Regions from separate parts of the Homo sapiens genome. Here all the other regions are linked to region 1. Evidence: promoter capture Hi-C in 16 types of primary human blood cells and fetal thymus (Javierre and others, 2016). All regions are on one chromosome and are shown on one strand. The core of a region is centred on a gene start or on the middle of the fragment in contact, and the rest is flanking DNA. Distances in the headings are between cores, read along the strand shown.

Evidence for each region. Contacts are between HindIII fragments. The CHiCAGO score rates a contact against its expected background, and 5 or more counts as called.
Region 2: a fragment that was not itself captured here is called in contact with the fragment with the promoter of IL10RA in region 1 in 7 of 17 cell types (non-activated CD4 T cells, naive CD8 T cells, naive CD4 T cells and 4 more); the score reaches 8.5 in non-activated CD4 T cells.
Region 3: a contact is called between a fragment that was not itself captured here and the fragment with the promoter of IL10RA in region 1, in 1 of 17 cell types (endothelial precursors). The highest score is 5.0, in endothelial precursors.

What each region holds. Positions count from the first base shown.
Region 1 is chr11:117,984,057-117,988,094 of GRCh38, forward strand. It overlaps IL10RA (interleukin 10 receptor subunit alpha), which reads left to right and starts at 2,338. Exons shown (of 7, transcript NM_001558.4): 1 at 2,338-2,478. The coding sequence starts at 2,412. RefSeq lists enhancers at 1,766-1,825, 3,216-3,515 and silencers at 2,016-2,115, 2,136-2,415. The HindIII fragment of the contact is 8,039 bases long and covers 1,051-4,038 here.
Region 2 is chr11:117,849,784-117,854,219 of GRCh38, forward strand. The region is part of intron 1 of FXYD6-FXYD2 (FXYD6-FXYD2 readthrough); the gene reads right to left. The region is part of intron 1 of FXYD6 (FXYD domain containing ion transport regulator 6); the gene reads right to left. Among named protein-coding and RNA genes, the nearest start is that of FXYD6-AS1, 18 kb to the left of the region's middle. The HindIII fragment of the contact is 4,307 bases long and covers 1-3,685 here.
Region 3 is chr11:117,787,350-117,791,556 of GRCh38, forward strand. All of the region lies in intron 1 of DSCAML1 (DS cell adhesion molecule like 1), which reads right to left. Among named protein-coding and RNA genes, the nearest start is that of DSCAML1, 7.8 kb to the right of the region's middle. The HindIII fragment of the contact is 8,640 bases long and covers 1-4,207 here.

The sequences.
Region 1 (4,038 bases), core at 1,088-3,587:
GGGATGCACACACAGTCCCAAACACACATATGCACTTGGCAAACAGACAACGTTCTCCACACCACAATGAAATCCAAATCCACAGACTGGCCACTGCAAATCATATATGACTGCAAGTGCACACACACACACACACACACACACACACACACACACACACTTTGAAGCAGGTGTCAGCCTCCAAGAAAAAGTGATGGACAGTCTGTCTCTCATATCCTCACATATTTGGTTCACCTGGAGATGGCCTCAGATGAGCCAAGTGACACAGAGGTGCGAGAGACTGAGGATGTGCTGAGGTGTTACCCAGCACTCCAGTAGTGCTATTACCCAACACAAAAATTGGTCTGAATATCAGATTTCAAGCAAGCAAGGGAAACCCAGAAGAGACTGGGAGAAGTCCTTATGGAGGCTAAAGCAACTCCATGTTGGATGCTAATCCACAGTTTTGGCCGTGTTGGCTTTGGAGCCTCCCAGAAGACCTCTGAGATTCCCAATTTATCAATTGCTCCTTGTGTAAGTGCAAACACTTACTGTAAATCCGGCCCTTAGGTCAAACAACCTTGATGTTATCATACTTCAACTGTCCTACACATCTTTTCTGAATCACCCTTCCCCTGTGGTCTATAAGCCCTGGTCCTGGGGGTGAATCATGGAGACACAAACGTAGCTTCTGTTTATAAGTCCTTATTAAATGTTTTTTTCGAAGAAACTGGATGTGTCAGCCTGTAACCTGCAAAAGGATCTGGCTGCTCTCTGCTTGTAGAAAGAATGGATAATAAAGGAAAATCTGCTAGCTGCCATGCTAGCAGGGGAAGAGCAGCAAACAATTCCACTCTTCAATTCATGGGGGGAACGCAGGGGTTTTTTAAGAAAGGATCTGAAATGCAGAAAAGGCAAGGGGGAGGTTAGGAGGTACCAGGTGGTGTGACTTGCTCCAGTGGTCCTCTTTAATTATCGTCTTATTTGGTGGAGGGGCTGGTGCAATCGTGGATCCTGCCAGGTTATAAATTAGTTACTCTTCAGCAGGGTATATGTTCAACTCCTGAAGTAAGCTTTTGTTGGAGAGAGAATTCCGGAGGTGCCTGGTCCCTATCAGGACGCAGCTCCTGAGGCATCTAAGGAAATATATGACCAGGTAAGAGCATAGCGTGTGCTTAACAAGCACGTAGGTAAATAAACGTGCGTAAGGCATGGGAGTACAGTATGGGACAGGAAAGGGAGTGGAGGTCACAGCACGTCCTGAGGCTGTGTTTTAAGATGAGAGGTAACATACATGCAGTTTGTCTCAAAATTATATCTTGAGGCCCAGAGGAGGAAGAGAAAAAAGGAAAGAAGAGAAACTAAGTTTAAAACACGGTTTAAGGCTGGGCGCGGTGGCTCACCCCTGTAATCCCAGCACTTTGGGAGGCTGAGGCGGGTGGATCACCTGAGGTCAGGAGTTCGAGACCAGCCTGGCCAACATGGTGAAACCCCGTCTCTACTAAAAATACAAAAATTAGCCCAGGCGTGGTGGCACATGCCTGTAATGCCAGCTACTCGGAAGGCTGAGGCAGGAGAATCGCTTGAACCTGGGAGACGAAGGTTGCAGTGATCCGAGATCACGCCACTGCATTCCAGCTTGGGCGACAGAGCGAGACTGTAAAAAAAAAAAATAGATAAAAAAATTTTAAAAATCGCGGTTTGAGGCTCAGCTGCTGAGCTGCTGGTTAAAAGCCTCTTTCTTGGGTCTCTCAGCTTCCTGGGACTTTGGGGGCAGGTCTGCATAAACTGCTTAGTTGTGGACCCCCCTCCAACAATTAGGTAGGGGACTACTCAGTATTCATCCATCGGTGTCCTCAGACCCCCAGACGGGGAGGCCCTGGGGCAACGCCAAGACTCACACCGGCGTCCTGGCGCCTTTGCCCTCAAGGGCCTGCAACTACCTCCTCCCCATTCGGAGCGGCCGCGGCCACATCCTTAACGCCAAGCCGGCACGCCAGGCAAAAGCGGCTCGGACGCCCTCACCCCACCTTCCGCACTCAGGGCCGAGGCTGTGCCTGGCCACCTGCTTCCCAGCACATGCACACACGCGCGCGCGCACACACCCACACACACGTACCCACGGCCGGCCGGGCTACCCGGACCACTTTGATCCGAAGGCACTGGAGGCCCAGAGGGAAGGAAAGGGAGGGGTGGCCGGAGCCCGCTAGCGCCCCAGGACAGCCTCGGGTTGCCCCAGGCGGTAGCCCTGTGGGACAGTGGTTCCCCGTCCGCGGCCTCGGGGGCGGGGCGTCTGTAGGCCTCGCCCCGCTGACGTCAGCCCTGCGGGGCGCTGGCGGAGCGGGCGGCGGAGCTGTCAGTCCCAGCCCAAGGGTAGCTGGAGGCGCGCAGGCCGGCTCCGCTCCGGCCCCGGACGATGCGGCGCGCCCAGGATGCTGCCGTGCCTCGTAGTGCTGCTGGCGGCGCTCCTCAGCCTCCGTCTTGGCTCAGACGCTCATGGTAAGGCTCCGGGACGCGGCCCTTCCCTGCCCTGCCCTCTCCGCGCCCGCTCCATTAAAGTTCTCCATCCAGTGGAGAGCCCTGGCTGGCTGGCCCTCTGGCAGAGCGGTGCCCGGGTGCTCCCTTACTCTGGCAAACCTGGATCTCAGGCTCACCTGTTGTGGAAGTGGAAGAGGCTGAAATTGACAGGAACTGACGGATTGGGAAGGATAGAGAAGTATGCGCAAGGCCAAACCCCCAACCCGCAAACCTCATCATCCACCCACTTCTAGATGAGCCGTAAGTTTAGCTCTAGGTTTTTTGCTGTTTAGGTTCAAATGATGGGACTTCTTGTCCCCTTGGGGAATAATTTTGATCTCCTGACTCTCCCTTCTCTTAGTCGACTCTTCAACTAACCTCTGTCTGTCCTTCTCCCATCTCACCTTCATCCCTCACTGATCACCCCGATCTGATCCCCCTTGCTCCACCTGTAGCCCCCAACTCACTCCCACTGCCCCCTGCCTCTCTCCTCCTAACCCAGCCAGTTCAGGCTTCTAACCCAGTTCAGGCTCCTAACCCAGACAGTTCTCCGGCAAGGTTTCTGCAACTAAGAAAAGTAAACCCCAGAGACAGAATGAAAGAGCCGGGAGTTGGAAGGACCAAGAGCAGAGACAGAGAGCAAGGACCGAAACTGCTTCTTCATGACACCAAAATACAAAGTAAAACATGCAGTCAGCCATTCACGTGATCGAGAGCTGAGTCGGAGATGTGCAGCCCAAATACCACAACGACTCGCTGCATTTTTCACTTTCCGTCTAATGTTTCGAAATCAAGGCACTGACGTGAAGATCAAAGACGGTATAAGAAAGAAAGCAAGAGACAGATGACAGAGTCCTCCCCCCCAAAAAATAAATAAAAAACAGGTGCATGATTAGAGAGATGTAGAGAAGTTAGAACACTAGGGAGCGGGAGCAGAGTCGCTGTCAAATGGAGAGAACTTAGAGGATCAAGGAGGAGAGAAAGGGAACCAACCAGCCGTTGGCCTTGCACATACTTCAGTCTGCTTGATCAACAAGACTCTTAAAGTAGAAATGTTTGTTGCATTCTTACAAAGAAGACAATGCCTTCAGCAGTGTTTCCCATGGTGAATGGTGTGTACTGGGGGTAAAGGGAGAGTAGAGCTAGGAATTGGTATTGAGTATCTCTCCTCGGAGCTACAGGTGCCAGCTCTTGTGGGGATGTCCTCAGCCATGTGTAGAGCCAGAGCTGATTTATTCCATCTGTCCTTGCCCAGCCAGAGGTTGGACATCTGGCTATAGGCAAAGCCCTCCCAGAAACTAGGGAATGAGGCAAGCACTTAGCTTGGGGAGCCCAGGAGACCTATGAAGAGAAGGAGGCAGATGTCAGCAAGCAGGCTGTCTGTGTACTTAGTGAGGTGGCTTTGAGCTGGAGCCTGGGCCAAGCCAGGGTGGGGATCAGGTGTGTGGATGGGGCCAAGCCTAGGAATAGTGCTAGAGCAGGGACAGGGATTGGGCAGAGCCAGGGACTAACACATCTGAGAGCTCATTGCCAACTTGCTTA
Region 2 (4,436 bases), core at 282-2,781, 140 kb before region 1:
CATGCTGAAACTTAACCTTCACTGGTTACTTTACAGATAACATTCATAGGTCACCCTGGTAATGGTTACTTCAGTTGTTTTTCAGGAATTTGGGCTAGCTCCTGTCCAGTTCAAACAGGATGAGACCACCCACCCTTCAACTGGGCATGTGCAAGTGCTCCGAAGGGTAGCCTTTGACATCAGAGGGCTAAAAACTCCACCCTCAGGTCACACTAATGCCACCATTTCCTGTACATATGTCCTGTGGAATGCCACAAACCCTGACTACGCTTGCTCAGAATGAATCTGCCATTTCATTTCTCCCCACTGCCAATCACCTTTCCCTATGCCTCAGACCACCCCACTTCCCTTAACAGTAAATATCCCTAAGCCTTATCTTTGGGGAGGCGGATTTGAGAGCCGTTCTCCGGCCTCCTTGCTTGGTGGTCTTCTGAATAAATCTTTTCTCTTTTGCAAAATCTGTGTCACAGTGATTGATTTACTGAGATTTACTGAGTGTGGGCAGAACAGACCTGAAGCTGGCCGATAACATGTCTCTTAGAATATTCTAACAGATAGTTTAAAACTGTTACTGTCCTCTGAGTTGGGTCTTTTAGAATTATGTAGTGATCCTCCCTGTCTTAAATTCTATGTTACTCTCTACCTTTCTGTGTCCTTATGTGTTGTGTGTGCATCTTATAAACAGCAAAGAGATGGATTTTTGAAAAATTCTGTATTGTCAGGCTTTCTGTATTAATTGTCAAATTTACCCCATTTAATTTACTTATTGTGACTATTGATGTAGTTGGTCTGCTTTCTGCCATCTGTTTTTTCCCTATGGGAATGTGCTTGTTTCTTTTTCTTTCCTTGCCCTTTCTTTTTTCTGGATTAGTTATTTTTATTTTTATTTTTTTGGGGGGCGGTCTCACTATGTTACGTAGGCTGGTCTCGAACTCCTGGGCTCAGGTGATCTGCCTGCCTTGGCCTCCCAAAGTGCTGGGATTATAGGCATGAGCCACTGCCCCTAGCTTAGTGATTTTTTTTTTTCTTATTCCTTTTCTCCCTCTACTGGTTTAGAAATTATAGAAACTATTTTAATCTTTTAGTGGTCATCTTTGTAATTTTTCCATGTGTATTCAATGTAAAAAAGACCAAAAAAATTCAGAGTTAATACTTATAATAGTTATTAGGCAGAATACCCTCCTTGAAAATACAAAAATACAAATCATCCCCTTCCTGATACATATGCTATTATTGGAGAATATTTCAGTTCTTTTTAAAATTCTATAAAATAGATACTAATATTCGTACTTCATGAAAACTATGTTTGTTTGGATTCACCCATGTGTGTAGTAGCCAGCCTGCAAGACAGCTCCCAGTATCTCCTAGTATTCAGATCCTTGTACAGTCCCCTCCCACACTGCACCAGGGTTGGTCTGTATGACCAGGAAAATATGGCAGAAGTAATGGTATGTCACTTTCGATATGAGGTTATAAAAAGCAACACAGCCTCTTGTGTGCTCTCTCTCTCTCTCCCTCCCTCTCGGATTGCTTGTTCTGAGTCAAGCTAGCTGCCATGTCTTAAGGATATTCAGGCACCCCTGTGGAGAGGCCCATGTGGTGGCCTCACTCCAAAAGCCTGCTAAGAAATACAGCCTGCCATGAACCACATAAGTGAGCTTGGAAACAGATCTTCCGGCTTCATGAAAGACCTTGAGCCAGAACCACCCACTGAAGATTCTCCCTGATTCCATACCCTCAGAAACTGTGTGAAATATCAAACGTTTGCTGTTTTAGGCTGCTGAGTTTGGAAGTAATTTGCTATGCAGCAATAGATAATGAATTTACAACATATGTACTGATTTGTTCACCATTGTTTTTGAACGTTAGTCATCCTTCATGCCATTTTCTTTATTCCTAAAGAACATCTTTCAAAATTTTCTTTAATGAAGATCTGTTCGTTAGAAACTCTGTTTCTGTTTATTTGGAAATGTTTTCATTTCACCTTTATGGCAAGAGACCCTACGGCGATCCCCAGTCATTCCAGCCTTCTAGTGTTCAATGCTTTGAGTAATCTCTTTCCTTTGAATACTGGCAGGAGCTGCAACACACTTTTAACCAACAGAATGTGGCAAAAGTGGCAAAAGGACAGCTCTCAGATGATGGTGTTATATCATATAAGACTCAATCTTGCAGGCTGGAGCTCGAGAATTTTCTCCCTTGCTGGCTTGAAAAAGCAAGCTGCTATGTCATGAGACAGGCTACGGAGAGAAGCACAGGATAAGGAATTGTGGGAAGCCTCTAGCAGCTGACAGCTGCCCCTGGCCAGAAGCCAGCAAGAAGATGGGAACCTCAGTTCTTCTACCACAAGGAGATGAATACTGCCAGCAACCTGAGGGAGTCTGGAGGCAGATCTTTCCCCAGTCAATTCTCTTATCAGACCACAACCTTAGCCAGCACCTAGACTGTAGTTCGGTATGATGCTGAAGCAGAAAATTCAGCTAAGCTGTGCCAGACCTCTGACCTAAAGAAACCATTACATAATAAACATGTGTTGCTTTAAGCTGCTGGGTCTGTGATCGTTTGTTATGCAGCAATAGAAAACTAATACAATCCTAACCTTGAAAGGTAGTTTGGCTATGTACACAATTCTAGGCTGATAATTATTTTTGCTCTGCACTTTTAAGATGTTATTCCACTGCTATCTGGCTTCCATGATTGCTGTTGAGAAGTCTGCTGCTTATATCATCATTCCTTTATAGATGTCCTATCTTTCTTCTCTGCCTCCTTTTATTTTCTTCTTTTTGTGTTTGCTGTTGTGGGTTTCATCACAAGTCTGAAACACAACATAGAACTGATTGTCGTGAGTTTCATCAGACTTGAAAGTCCTTTACCTATAGGTTCATCCTTTTCATCGTTATGAAAAATTCTTATCTCTTCAAATATGGCCTCTCCTCCATTCTCCCCACTTTCTCTTTCTGAGACTGTGACTAGAAGCAGGTTAGACATCCTCATTCTATTCTCCATATCGCTTAACTGCTCTTTCATATTTTCCACTTCCTTCTCTATGCTACATTCCAGGTAATTATTTCATATTTGTTTTCCATTTTCTGACTTCCTTTTTAACTGTTTTTATTTGCTGCTTAACCCACTCATTTACTTTTGTGTTTCAATGGTCATATTATTAATTTCTAAAGGTTCTATCTGGTTCTTTTTGAAATTGCCTGGGCATTTGTGTTAGTCTTTGTTGTTCACTCATTTTGTGTTCTCATCTCTTATTCTTTCAACATTTCTTACAGTTATTTTATATTCTGTATCTGATAATTCCAAACTCTTAAATCCTTGGGGGTCAAAATCTACTTTTTGTTTCTGTGCCTTTCAATCACAGTGACTTGTTTTTTCCTGTGTTTGGTAATATATTCGATTGTGAGCTCATATTTGCTAGATTTTAATCTGTGGGAAATTGGTAGTCCTAAAATGGGACACTTTCTTTCAGAGAGCATTTGCTTTGCTTTTTCATGGAGGCTGGGGGCAGCAGATACCAACCTGAGATCACTTTAGCCCCTCTCAAGGGTTCTTGGCTTCATGCAGGTAGTCTCAGGTTTGGCTTCCCAACCTTGCTGGACTCAATGCTGATTAGCCTACAGAATGCAGTAATGTCAATGAGGGTGCATTCTAAGAGTAACTATGGCTTAAGTTCTGGCTAAGCTTCACATACTCCAGTGCTAGTTTTTGTTTTGTTTTGTTTTGTTTGAGATAGAGTCTCACTGTGTCACTCAGGCTGGAGTATAGTGGCACAATCTCGGCTCATTGCAACCTCTGCCTCCTGAGTGATCCTCCTGCCTCAGCCTCCCTAGTAGCTGGAACTACAAGCATGCACCACCATGCCCAGCTAATTTTTGTATTTTTAGTAGAGACAGGGTTTCACCATGTTGGCCAGGCTGGGTCTCGAAATCCTGACCTCAAGTGATCCTTCTGGCTCGGCCTCCTTAAGTGTTGGGATTTCAGGCATGAGCCACCATGCCTGGCCCAGTTATCTCATGGGGTTTTTGTTTTGTTTTGTCTTTTTGGTAGTGTTTGGTGTGGGGAGAGTAACGGTGACTTAAGATTGGATGATTTTCATTCCTTCTTTAAACCAAGCTGTGTAATAGTAAACCTGGGATTAATTATTTTAAAGTGGAAAGTCCCCTTATGATTCAGGCAGTCATACAGTCCTAAAATATCTTCAATCAAAGTATGAAATAAGGTAAGTTTTGAGCATCTGCTATCTGTAAAACACCTCCCTCCCTCCCTCTCTCCTTCTCTTTCTTTCTCCAGTTTACTGCTGCTTCCTAGCCCAAGTCCCATCTCCAAATTACACCTGCTCCTTGCTTAGCCAGTGAGGAGGGAGACTGGAGTCAAGATGTGGAAGGTAGATGAAACAACACATTAAGGCCTTCAAATCTTAGGGGCCATGG
Region 3 (4,207 bases), core at 1,311-3,810, 200 kb before region 1:
AGGCAAGCAGTAAGTATTTGTGGGAAAAGTGAATCCTTGTGCAACAAATATTTACTGCTCACCTCTGATGATAATAATAATAACCTAAAACCGTGGTTCTCAAACATCAGTATGCATAAGAATCACCTGGAGAGCTTGTTAAAAATGCAGAGCCTTAGATAACAGATTCACCAAGTCTGTCATAGGGCCAGAAATTCTATTTCTGAGACTGGTGTCCTCTGTCTATACTGAGAGTAACAGTCCTTTGGAAAAGTAGATTTGCCATCCTGGACTTCTATACTTCCTTTCCCAACGACAGACAATTGTCATCTGCTTGGCTGACAAGACCCTACCACCACATTAATTAACTTAATTTGGAGATCAAGATAAGAAAACAACAGTGGTAGAATCAATAGCAACAGAGCATTGCAGTAGCCACACAGCTTTTGCTAATTCCCAGGCCTTACGCAGAGTTCTTCATGCAGATGTGAGCTGGAGAGGTTTCTTGGATTGATTTGCAAGGTTGATTACTTCACTGTATTTCCACACAAAGGTTTTCATGGGAGATGTGTTATGTGCCCTCACTCTGATTGTTCTCATCCCAGAGTTGGAAAAATTGGTTCTAGAGAGGATCAACCAGTAGGGTGATCCTCCCACCGGCTCACCCACCAAGTCCATTCAAAACCCAGAGGAGGACCAGCCAGACGGTGTCTTGCTGCTTCACTAAAAACCCTTTATGTTGCATCTTGGAAACTGTCTGAGCCCAGACACTGGCAAGGAGAGGGTTGAGTTTCCCAGACAGCATCAGAGCATGTACCAGGCAGCCTGAGCTGGTATGGTCCTTGGACAAGAGGAAGCAGCGGGCCAAGTCCCATGCTCTCTGCCTGTGATGTCCACCCAATCTGGCACACCTGCTCCACCACTACCTTCCCCATCACAGTGCCATCTTTTGGTTTTTTTGGTTTGTTTTGTTGTTGTTGTTTTGTTTTTGTTTTTGTTGTTGTTGTTGTTGTTTTGAGACGGAGTCTGGCTCTGTCACCCAGGCTGGAGTGCAGTGGCACCATCTTGGCTCACTGCAACCTCCACCTCCCAGGTTTGAGCGATTCTCCTGCCTCAGTCTCCTGAGTAGCTGGGATTACAGGCGTGCACCACCACGCCTGGCTAATTTTTGTATTTTTAGTAGAGATGGGGTTTCGCCATGTTGGCCAAGCTGGTCTCGAACTCCTGACCTCAAGTGATCCGCCTGCCTCGGCCTCCCAAACTGCTGGGATTACAGGCATGAGCCACCATGCCCAGCCCCATCATTTCTTTGTAGCATTTGTTTTGTGCCAGGCATGGTGGGAAGCCTTTTTCTTGCATTATTGCACATGTAATTCTTACAACAGCCCTTGGATGTAGCTACTACTCAAGACTCCATTTTACAGATAAGAAGACAGGCTCTTAGGTCAAATAATTTCTTGGTGTTGCACAGTTCGCAGTGGCAGAGCTGCATTTCACATCTTTATGCCAGGATGTGTGGCTCAGCAGGCACATGACAGGCTAGATTCAGACCATCCCCATGGTGTGAGCACACTGTGGGGGGATTTTCTGACAAAAGAGATCAATTGGGGTATGATAATTCAGAATTACCTGGGAATCTCCCTGTCATTAGACATTCCATCCCTCCCCCAACTAAACGCCAGCAGCTCCCCACCCTAGTCATTGAGATGACCAAAAAACGCTCCCCATTTCCAATCCCCATGCAAAGCACAGCTCAAGTGTCCTCCCTGTGTCCATCAGAAACATGGGTGGTTTTGCTGTTTGTTTTTAAGATTCTTAGCACAAACATGGTTTCTGTGACCAGCAACCAGAAACCTGCGAGGTCCAGTGGAGACGCAGCTATCCTTCAACCTCCAAGGCCCTGTGCCATCAGCTCCAGGAGAAGTTATGAGCAACAGCTGACTGTCGGACAGACTCTTTAATCTTCCAGCCCTTTCTAGACAGGGCCTGTCAAAGGAAGGTCCCTTATGGCCAAAATTTCTTTCCAGGGAGTCAGCTCAGACAGCACAGTTGTCCCCAGAGAATCCTAGATTTAGATTGTTAATGCTTGAGGGACTTAAGAGATTATTTTTTCCAATCTCCTCCATTCACAAGGCCTAGAGAGGTGGAGTCATCTACCCCAGGGACACAGCTCACCAGCATCCCAGCTGGGGCTACAGTGCTGTCTCCAGTGTTCTCTCAGTTCTGGCCACCCTGCTGTCAGAAAACTAGCCATTGTGGAACTCAGGAGCACCATGAAGCACCGAAACGATGTCATTCGAGGGTGTATCAGAGCAACTAGGGATGCTGCGTGTCCAGAGCAGGGGCCTCAGATGGGCAGGACATCTGCCTATCACAGTCGCAGGGCTGTCAAGTGGAAGAGGGCTTTGCCTTGCTCTATGTGGTCCAAGCGGTGACATCAGGACCAGTGAGTAGAAGGTCCAAGACCACAACAGGGTTTGACTCATTCTAAGGATGAGCTCTGTAATAGTCAGAGCTGTGTGGCCAGGAATGGGCTGCCTTGCAAGGAAGGAGTCCCTGTTGCAGGAAGTGCTAGTGAAGACAGAAAAAGACACTGGGTGGGAAAGCTGCAGAGGGAGTCAGCCTCTGATTAGGGGACAGATTCCACAGCCTTAAAGATGCCTTCCAACCCTGCAAGACTTTTACCCAAGGTGATCACCTGAATCTCCCTCTCCCACCCCCAACGCAGGGGTCCTATCCTCTCTCATACCCCACGACTGCGGGAGGGTCACCCTAGTAGCAGGGTGTCCACCAGTCTCGACTCGGCAGAGTTTTCAGAGATTCCAGTGAATACTGTGACCTTAAATGAGGTCACATAAGATGGGACTGTGCCTACTGCTCTTCCCACAAAAGACTGTGGATTCCCTGCAGGGAGAATGTCCCTTTGGGGGAGTTGGTCCAGAGGACTATGGACTACACTTGCATCTAAGAACCTTGGAGGGGAATGGGAGGAGGGAGAAGAGGTAGGCTTCCTCCCACTCCCACTACCACTGGGGCCTCAAGGGATCTGCCAAGTTTGCTCCAGGAAGACTATTGCCAGCCTGGCTGTGCCTCATCAGCTGTTCCCCATGATGCTGAAAAGCAAAGCTAGGAAAATTCTCCATATGTTGGGGCCCACGGAGGGGGAGACAGCCACAAACAGCTGTGAGACCTTCATCGTTCCTGTATGATGAAATGACAGTAATTATGCCTCACATTTCAGCAGAGCATTTATAAGGCTAAAACGGGTTTGCTGTGGTTTTTACATGTGTGTGTTCATATGTTGCCTCATTCTGTATACAAAGCACTGTCACATGATGTACATTTTTATGCCTCTTATTCTTATTTATGCACATATACAGTAACAACTGCTCTGTAGGATAGCCAGGACGGGGGTAATTTTGCCCATTTTACAGATTACGAAATAAAGGCACATGAACCATTAGGCAACTTGCCCAGGTAAGACAGGCTGAGCTTTGTTTTTTAGGTCCATGGATAATGTTCTTTCCAACACACAGACACACATACACACATGCACGTGCAAACACACATGCATCTCTTTAGAATCAGTTTAATGGATATGCAACTAACTAGCATTTGAATAATTGTTGTTAATGAAGATGGTGACCTTGGAAACTGTTAGTGCAAGCATCATGTAGAGACAGGGCACAGGGAGTGGGGCAGGGCAGCTGAACGAATGAGGGGAGTAGCAGCTGGAGTGGCATGGGTGGTCCCCAAGGCTAATGCTGTTCACTCTAAAGCAGCACAGGACAAACATCTGTTTAACAAGGCACACAGGCTGTGGAGCCCACAGCCTCCCCAACATGTAGGATCCCACAGGCCATGGCCTGCCATAGGCAGCACTTGACCTCTGGGTTACATGCTGCTTCCCTGTGACAGACTAGGTCATGGAAGGAAGAGCAGTCCCAAGGTCACAGGCTGCCAAGAGTGTTCTCTATATGCAAAACTGCCTGAAAAATAGAGGTTCATCTCAGCAGGGAGAGACACAGAAATACATCCAGCAACAGTTATGAGGGCTCCCTCGCTTTGTGAGGAGTGCTTACGCAGGCTTTATGGCATGAACTCCAGAATAGTTCTTACTCTGGCCAACCGTGGTAGAGATTTAACAACCAACCCCAGCCTTCCTTTGGCAGATATGAGACCAACCTTTGCCTCACCTCAAATCCAAGTCTGGAGCCAACTTCAGCCC